Regions from separate parts of the Homo sapiens genome. Here regions 1 and 3 are each linked to region 2. Evidence: promoter capture Hi-C in 16 types of primary human blood cells and fetal thymus (Javierre and others, 2016). All regions are on one chromosome and are shown on one strand. Each heading gives the region's core, a stretch centred on a gene start or on the middle of the fragment in contact. The rest is flanking DNA. Distances are from core to core; before and after follow the strand shown. Region 1 overlaps DMRTC2 (DMRT like family C2). Region 2 holds the start of CNFN (cornifelin). Region 3 holds the start of CEACAM3 (CEA cell adhesion molecule 3).

The links. The method cuts DNA at HindIII sites, captures the fragments that hold promoters and counts their contacts. A CHiCAGO score of 5 or more calls a contact.
Region 1: a contact is called between a fragment that was not itself captured here and the fragment with the promoter of CNFN in region 2, in 1 of 17 cell types (naive B cells). The highest score is 6.3, in naive B cells.
Region 3: the fragment with the promoter of CEACAM3 here is called in contact with the fragment with the promoter of CNFN in region 2 in 8 of 17 cell types (naive CD4 T cells, non-activated CD4 T cells, total CD8 T cells and 5 more); the score reaches 7.1 in naive CD4 T cells.

What each region holds. Positions count from the first base shown.
Region 1 is chr19:41,848,278-41,851,384 of GRCh38, forward strand. DMRTC2 (DMRT like family C2) reads left to right here. Exons shown (of 9, transcript NM_001040283.3): 4 at 175-251; 5 at 518-698; 6 at 853-979; 7 at 2,035-2,095; 8 at 2,249-2,423. Among named protein-coding and RNA genes, the nearest start is that of DMRTC2, 4.8 kb to the left of the region's middle. The HindIII fragment of the contact is 347 bases long and covers 1,387-1,733 here.
Region 2 is chr19:42,388,882-42,391,942 of GRCh38, forward strand. It overlaps CNFN (cornifelin), which reads right to left and starts at 1,416. Exons shown (of 4, transcript NM_032488.4): 1 at 1,359-1,416; 2 at 45-158. The coding sequence starts at 156. The HindIII fragment of the contact is 9,287 bases long and covers 1-3,061 here.
Region 3 is chr19:41,795,297-41,798,163 of GRCh38, forward strand. CEACAM3 (CEA cell adhesion molecule 3) reads left to right here and starts at 1,291. Exons shown (of 7, transcript NM_001815.5): 1 at 1,291-1,445; 2 at 2,293-2,652. The coding sequence starts at 1,382. The HindIII fragment of the contact is 3,675 bases long and covers 420-2,867 here.

The DNA.
Region 1 (3,107 bases), core at 310-2,809, 540 kb before region 2:
GGAGGTTGTAGTGAGCCAAGATCACGCCACTGCACTCCAGCCTGGGCGACACAGCAAGACTCCATCTCAAAAAAAAAAAATGAGCTAGATGGGGGAGATGAGAACTGTCTGGGGTTGGGGTAGGATAGGGGTCAGGAGAAAGGGCTCATTAGAGCTCTCCCTGGTCCTTCACAGCTGGAAAGGAGAACATAGCACCCCAGCCTCAGACCCCCCATGGGGCAGTCCTGCTGGCACCGACACCCCCCGGGAAGGTAAGGAGAGGCTGGGGCCTGAGAAAGTGTCCCCCACCCTAGTTCCTACCCAGACCCTTTCTTCTGTGCCCTCAACACCTGGGTTCTAGCCCCAGCCCTGGTTTGCTATGTAATCTAGTCAAATCACTGCTCTTCTCTAGGCAAAATGAGGGGAAAACGAGGGCCTCCCAGCCCCAAAGTTTTGGGGTTCTGCCCGTATCCCAGAATACACTCAATCCTTTTCCAGCCTTGTACCCAACTCCAGCCTGTGCCCTCTGCCCCTGCAGAACTCCTGTGGGCCTCTGCTGCTCAGCCATCCCCCGGAAGCCTCGCCCTTGTCCTGGACTCCGGTGCCTCCTGGCCCTTGGGTCCCTGGACACTGGCTGCCTCCAGGCTTCTCCATGCCACCACCAGTGGTGTGCCGCCTGCTGTACCAAGAACCTGCTGTCTCTCTGCCTCCCTTCCCTGGTAAGATGATAATTCAACATTCATTCAACATATATTTGAGTGCCAATCTGCCACATATTGGAGAGGGAAGAGGAAGAAAGCATAGGTGGGGAGAGGGAGGAAAGAAACTATGACCTTGGCCCCTATACACTCTGCATTCTTTTATTCTTATTAGGCTTTGACCCTGGCACCTCCCTCCAGCTGCCCACTCATGGGCCCTTCACCACCTGCCCAGGATCTCACCCAGTACTGACAGCTCCTCTTTCTGGAGAGCCCCAAGGGCCCCCTAGCCAGCCCCGCACGTGAGTAGGGAGAGAAGGATGTGTATCATAAGCCTAAGCCTGTGCTGTGTCCAACCACAGTGCTGGTGTCCAACCACAGTGGATAATGAAGATGAAAAGGTCTCTGACTAATAGGCAAGGCAGAGCTCTCCTAGTACTGCCATTTCCTAGCTGTGATGCTTTGGACAATTATCTTTACCTCTCTGAGCCTGTTTTTCTATCAGTAAATTGGAGACACTATTACTTACCTCTCTGATTGTTGTAAGAATTAGCAATAATGTATGGAATAGACCTAGCACAGACTCTTTAATGGTAGCTGTTATATCTGCTTAGACAGATTTGATGGGGTAAGATTGCCTGCTGATATGGGGGGCAGAGATGATGAGAGCCTCAGAGACCCAGGAGAGGGGCCAGAGGCCATTAGGAAAAGCTTCCCAAAGGTGAGCCAAGCTCTCCTTCAAGTTCTATGGTGACTGGGGAACTGGGGGAATGGGACCCAGACTCTGATAGGTCAGGGACAGTAATCTCAGTCTTCTAGGTGTTTTTTTAAAAACCGGCATCAGGTGGGGCCTGGTGGCTCACACCTGTAATCCCAACACTTTGGGAGGCTGAGGTGGGAGGATTACTTGAGGCCAAGAGTTTGAGACCACCTGAGTAACTGAGCGAGACTTCGTCTCTACAAAAAAATTAAAACAGCCAGGAATGGTGGTGCACACCTGTTTTCCTGGCTACTTAGGAGGCTGAGGTGGGAAGATGGTGTAGGCCCAGGAGTTCAAGCTTATGGTGAGCCATGATCACACCGCCACTGCACTCCAGCCTAGGTGACAGAGCAAGAGCCTGTCTCAAAAAAAAAAAAGACACTAGTGATTTCCCATAATCCTCACAGTAGCCCTGGGAGGAAAAACTGGCAAGGATTTTTACTTTACTGAAAACAAAATAAGTCAAGACACAGCTTAATGGCCCAGCAGGCTCTCAGATTCCCAGATCAAAACATGGCAAAATCCTGCCCCTCTTTCAATGTGTGCATGTCTGTTCATCTGTTTAACCACCCTGGCATCTTCTCTCCTTGTTTCTAGACACTCAACTCTGATACTCCAGCCCTGTGGCACCCCAGACCCTCTTCAGCTACAGCCACAGGTCCTGGGAAAGAAGTGGGATCTAGGGCCCTGGGAGGAGGTTGAGCCTGGGGAAGGAAAAAGCAGGAAACTGAAGGAAGCAGGGGCTGAGGAACACTTAGAGGGTGGGCAGAAGCGGGGGTTCCCAGTCTGCTTGTCTCCCTTTCCCTTGCAGGCCTCTGGAGCCTCGTGCCTGGCCCGGACATCTGGCCCCTCAGAGTGGCAGCTGCAGCAAGAGGCAGCTGAAGCCCTCGTGGGGCTGAAAGATTCATCCCAGGCTCCTCGTGTGACCCCTTCTGTGCCCCCCAACCCTGCCTGGATCTCCCTGCTTCACCCCTGTGGCCCACCAGGTGGGCCATGAAAGGAGAGGATGGATAGGGATGGCTGGGAAATGGAGATCACTGAAGTACACAGGGACTAACCAAGGAGATGAGGGGGTCGACAGGTTGAACGTCTTCAGGCCCAGGACCCCAAGCTCCTCAGCCTGGCCCCTGGGATTGCAGTTGAGAGTTATTCAGTGAATCCTTTTTATCAGTTTGGCACTCGACAGCAAATTTCTTGATATCAAGGAAAGTGGGGCACTGAGAAAGGCAGGGACTTGCCCAAGGGCATATAGTGAGACAGTGGCAGGGAACCCAATGCTCTGTCTCTGGACCCAGGCTGCCTGCTGAAGTCTGAAGTGGGGTCTGGCCTGGGAGGAGGTCTGATAAGTGCCTTCAAGGAGCTTACGTTCTAGTTAGGGAAATTGGATGCCTTCACAAGGCTCAGTGACAAACCTGAAGAAGATTGGAGGAACCTTGAAGAGTGAGAAACACCTAGGGGGACAGACAGGGAAAGCTGCGAATTCTCTTGTCCAAATAGTGGATTGGGCAGACTGGCCTGGAGGAAATGCTAGAACAGAGGGAAAGGAGGCTGGAGAGGCTTCTGATGGTGGAGATCTGGCATGCCAGGCTTAGGTGTCTAGAACAGCAACTGTATGTGAAGGGGAGCCAGGGAACGTTTCTGAACTAAGCAAGGACAAATTCAGAGACCCT
Region 2 (3,061 bases), core at 166-2,665:
CCCATCTTCCACCAGGCCTGGAGAGGGAGCAGGCAGGCACTCACAGACAGGCATGTCGTTGCAGCAGTCCGTGAGACCTGTGTGCCAGTCACTGAGCTGGGTCTGGTAGCAGCTGGTGGTGGCGCACTGGGGCTGACTGGTCACAGGGTAGGACATAGCTGCAGAGGTGGGAGGGTAGGGGTCAGCTGGCAGCCTCGCAGCATCTCCTGGGCCCCGCACTTCGGCCACCCTTCCCTGTGCCGGGCAGTCTGGGCGGGGCCGCCAGGCCGCCCACTGAAGGGACACCACTGTGCCTCCCCCTTCCCTTCTGCTACATCTGGGCACCGGCAACCCCAGTCTGTCCCTGTTGCTGCTGGCTCCTGCACGTCTGGTTAGGCTGGGGGTGGGGGTCTCCTGCACATCTGAGGAAGGGTGGGGACCACATCTGGGTGGGGCCTGGCGGTGCCGCCTCCTCCTCCACGTCTGGGCCTGGGTTCTGGGTTGCAGCATTTCTGGGGCCTCTGGGGTGGAAGCAGGCGCCGTCTGTCTTCGAAGCAAGGGTGCCCAGGGGAGGGAGGCGGCCAGGTTCCAGTACTGAGAGGGTTGCTGGTCCACCCAGCGGTCCCACCTTTGCCTTTCACGTTGTCGTGCATCTCAAACTGCATCTTGCTGGCCCTGAGGAGGTGGCGTTGGGGACGGCAGAAGTGGCTGTGGCAACAGTGGCAGAGTCTGTCCAAGGGACGCTGGATACTGGGGAGGTGGGGGCAAGGGACTGGGGCACTGGGGGCTGGGCTCTCAGGGGGAGGGGAGCTGGGGAGAAAGAGGCCAAGTCAGCCTGTCAACCAGGAGAGACATGGAATAGGGAATGGATAGGGCGGGGGCGAGAAACTCGCCCATGTCTTTCCAACTGCCCGACAGATTGCAGAGGACCCTCCCCATACCCGAGATAGAGCTTGAGGGAGAACAAGAAATGGAGATGGACAGAGTCAGAGACAAGGGGAGAAAGATCAGAGCCAGGTGCCCGTAGAGATGTCACCAGTAATGCCCACATGTGCCCAGCACTTTGACTCCTCTGCAAGCCCATCTCACAGATGAGCACTGAGGCTCAGAGACATGAGGAGGAACGCCCCACGTCTGACGGCCCAGGCCAAGGGGGTTCATAGAGGTGATGCTGGGCCCCAAGACTTCTAAATTCAGCTCAGCACACCCCAGTTAAGAAGGACAGATTTGGGGGCATTGGGAAGGACAGAGATGTCCCGAGAGACCGACAATCAGCGATATGAAAGGAGACAGAGTGATATGAGTGGGATGAGGAGGAGGGAGAACAGAGCAGAGGCGCCCAACCTCAAAGAAGAGGGCTGCGGAGGGGATGTTCCTACCTGCAGGATCGCGATGGCAGTGATGGAGGCAGACGTGTGGAGACACGGGCACTGACTTCTCCGTCTCAGCCCAGAGCCACTTATATGGGCGGCCACGCAGCCCTGGGCGGGGCTCTGACAGAGGTGCCCAGGGAGCCAAGCCGGTCTGATCGACCCTCTCCCCACACTGGGATTTCCCGCCCTCCCTCTCCACTCCCATCCCCCCACTTCTCCTCCTGCCTCAGCTCCCAGGACCCAGGGAAAAGAAGGTGGCGGGGGGTGGGAGGTTTGGCGGGGGCGGGGGGCCACAGCCGGGTCAATGCGCAGAGACCAAAAGAGAGGGAGAGACAGAAACACAGTGTCAGAAAGGCAGGCAGGGAAGTCCCTCTAGACAGAAAGGAGAGAGAGGAGATTCAGAGAGATGGAGAGACGCAGGAAGATGTAGAGAGATGGAGAGGTGCCAAGAAACAGAGGGGCACAAAAATGTGAAAAGAAATAACAAGAAGAGGGGAGATGGGCCAGGCATGGTGGCTCTCGCCTGTAATCCCAACCCTGTAATCGCCTGAGGTGAGAGGATCGCTTGAGCCCAGGAGTTGAAGACCAGCCTGGGCAACATAGGGATACCCCATCTCTACAAAAAATACAAATAGAATTAGCCGGGCATGGTGGCATGTGCCTGTAGTCCCAGCTACTTGAGAGGCTGAGGCAGGAGGATCGCTTGAGTCCAGAAGTTTGAGGCTGCAGTGAGCCGTGTTCCCGCCACTACACTCCGGCCTCAGTGACAGAGCAAGACCCTGTCTTAAAAAAAAAAAAGGAAAGAAAAGGGGAGATGGGAGACAGAAGAGAGACGGAGATGGAAAAGTGGAGAGGCAGGTGGGGGGATCACTGAACAGGCTTAGAGGGCAGGGAAATGGGGAGAGGTGATGGGTGGGGAGAGAAAAAGGCCGGGTGGAGTGGGAGAGAGTGCTGTGTGGGACTCCCCTTTCAGGGTCTCGCTCATCTCTCTCAGTGATATCCCCACTTTCCTGGGAGAGGGGGACAGTGTCCTCCCCATTCAAGCCAGGAGACACATGGGGGGCAGTGTGTTTTGGGGAATGACTCATGTTGGAACCAAAGTAAATAAACACACCTCACCCCAGCTCCAAATTGGGAAGGGAGGAGGCTGGGAACTGAAAAGCCGCAGTTCCTGAAGGACGTGGACGTCACCTGGGACTCCTGGGTCCTAATGGAGCAAAGGAGTGGGGGCTTGGACCCCTGGGTCTGAGGGAGGAGGGGCTGGGGCCCTGGACTCCTGCGTCTCATGAGGCCAGGCTGCACATCCCTCAGTAGGGTAGGGGTCCTGGGATTCCACACTGCTGGGCTCCTGAGCAGGGAAGGAGCTGGGGGTCTGGGTGCCTGAATCGCCAAAGTTTCCCCCCAACAGGCCTGACGGGGTTGGGAGGTGACTCAGTGAGGGAAGCAGCATTAGAGCTGGGTGGGGTTCTCAGCACGGGTGTCACCCCAAAAATGTAGGAGGCACTAGAAAACTGGGGTGTCACCTGCAGAGAAGGTGGTGTCATCACCCCGCCGGGTATGGGGTGATGGCAGGTGGATCACCCTGCTAGCTGGGATCCCAGGTGTCCCCTCCCTCCCTCCCTCCCTCCAACACATTAGGACCCAAGCCTTGGTCTCCCAGCACCACCCAGATGGTTGGGTCTTCCTGTCCCCAGAACTCCCGGCAGCGC
Region 3 (2,867 bases), core at 41-2,540, 590 kb before region 2:
TGGAACTGGGAAATGAAAATAATGACAGATGCACCACAAGTTCTAACAAGCAAAAGTAGCTTTTTCACACATCCACATCAGCAGAAAGCCACAAGCCCAATATTCCGGCGTAGACACTCTTTGAAAACCAGAATTCCACAGCAATAACCACGATGACAACCACCATGTACTCAACACCCGCCTGGGCACGGGGCTCCCACAGCAGCTCACTTATTCCCAACAACTCTGCAAGGAGGATTTTACCATCCTCCTTTTACAAATCAGGGAATCAAGGATCATAGAAGCCACGTGACTTGTCCAAGTCAACATAGTTAAGTGACAGAACCATTAGCTGTCCCCAGGTACATCTGGACATAAAGTTCATGTTTATGCCACTGTGTCAGCATTTCCAAAAACTGATTTTAGGCGAAACGTAAGTAAGCTTTTTAAAAACTTTAATACTTATGCGTTTATTTTAATATACATTGAGAAAACATTTAAGCACACATCAAATCTGTAATTTCATGGACAATATTGCATAAGACAAGGATGTTTTGTCTCCAACTCCTGGCCTCAAGCCATCCTCCCACCATAGCCTCTCGAGTAGCTGGGATCACAGATCTGAGCCACCGATCCCTGCTAGGACAGGATGTTTTGTAAACTAAATTTATTTAGAAAAAAGGATGAAATATATAATAATAAAGGTGGTACAAGCTAGAGAGAAAATCATAAAGTCAGCCTAGAAATGTCTGGTGTCTGGATGACATAAAGCTACAGCACTGTGAAGCCTCATTCTCAGTTACTCCCAGGAAATTAGAGTCACATAATGCTGCAGAAAGAACAGCTCAGAATCTTAGATCCGGGCTTTAGCCCTAGATATATCCATTTGTAGGACCCCAGACATCTCTGTGACCTCCTTGCTGGGAGTAAATCCAACCTTCCCAGACATGTGAGAACAGTAAGAAGACCCTGCACACACAAAGGAGTTTCTCCGTCACAGAGAAAATAACACCAGGTTCAGGGACCCCAGGGACTCTGCATGGTGCTGACAGACCCAAGGCCAAGGCAGAGCAGAGGTCCACGCTGGGGAGGGAGGGTCATCCTGTTATGAAACAGGGATCCAAGTAAGCCTTGCTTCTCAGAGCCTGGTCTGGGGAACTCAAATGTAGACAGAAGGGAGAAAGGAAGAAGAGAAAATGAGGCAAAACTGAGAGGGGAGGGGACAGAGAGGTGACCTGGGCAGAGCTTCACCCATGACCCTGGAAAGTGCTCCTGCCCTGGGAGGAGGCTCAGCATGGAAAGAGGAAGGACAGCAGAGCCTAAGTCACAGTAGCCCTGACTACAGCATTCCTGGAGCCCAGGCTCTTTTCCACAGAGGAGGAAAGAGCAGGCAGCAGAGACCATGGGGCCCCCCTCAGCCTCTCCCCACAGAGAATGCATCCCCTGGCAGGGGCTTCTGCTCACAGGTGAGTGGAGGATTCCTGGGAGTGGGCAAGAGGAGGGATCACAGAGAATGGCTGGGGTCTCCTGGGGAGGATGGGGCTCTGATAGGGGACAGAAGGCTTCTGCTGAAGCCTCAGGGGAGAGAACATCAGAGAGGGACACGGGTCACAACAAGACAATCACATTGAACTGGGATTGATAAGAGGGAGGAAAATCCATTGATCATGTTTTCCAAGTTAATCATTACTGGCCACTACAATTAGAAAATGATAAGAATAAGAATTACATCAGGGTGATACTTTAAATAAAAATATAACCAGGGCACTAAAACCTGTCTTTGACCACCAACCACAAGTTGCAAAATAACCACCACTCCTTAACTCATCCACCAGTATTTGCAATCAAATTTTAGGCACTGGCGTACAACAAATATCAGACAAGTCTCTGTGTTCAAAGAGCTTACACTCTTGCAGAGATGAAGATAGACACCCAAAGAGATCTAGAATGTGAGTTCAGGTGTTGACAAGAGCCCTGGAGGGAACAGAGCAGAAAAAGGTCAGAAAGGGAAGACCCAGGGTCTCTAGAGGAGGTGTCAGGGGAGGGATCTCCCAAGGATGCCCTGATGTGAGCAGGATCTGAGGGCAGTGGGGAGGGAGCCATGCAGACCCCTGGGGAAGGGGATTCCACACAGGAAAATGCCAAGGTTAGAGGTGCTGAAGAAAGAAAGGTCACGTTACTGACCTTGACCAAGTGGGACACACATACACTCTCCAAGGCTGAAGGGTGAAGAGACTCTCTCAGGACCCAGGGCCCCATCTTTCCATCCCAATACATGGGTCCCAATATTGACTGATGCTTTCTCCCTCCTAGCCTCACTTCTAAACTTCTGGAACCCGCCCACCACTGCCAAGCTCACTATTGAATCCATGCCGCTCAGTGTCGCAGAGGGGAAGGAGGTGCTTCTACTTGTCCACAATCTGCCCCAGCATCTTTTTGGCTACAGCTGGTACAAAGGGGAAAGAGTGGATGGCAACAGTCTAATTGTAGGATATGTAATAGGAACTCAACAAGCTACCCCAGGGGCCGCATACAGCGGTCGAGAGACAATATACACCAATGCATCCCTGCTGATCCAGAATGTCACCCAGAATGACATAGGATTCTACACCCTACAAGTCATAAAGTCAGATCTTGTGAATGAAGAAGCAACTGGACAGTTCCATGTATACCGTGAGTATTTCCACATGACCTCTGGGTGTTGGGGGTCAGTTCTACTTCCCACATATGGGATTGTCAGGCCTGGGCTGTGCCTGTGGCCCTCTCTGCATTACATTCTGTATCAGGGTTTGGACATTTAGTGCAGGACACACACGGGGGAGACAAACTTCCACAGATCAGAATTCCTTTCCTGCATCCAGACCCTGCAGACACTCGCTGCAGAGGAA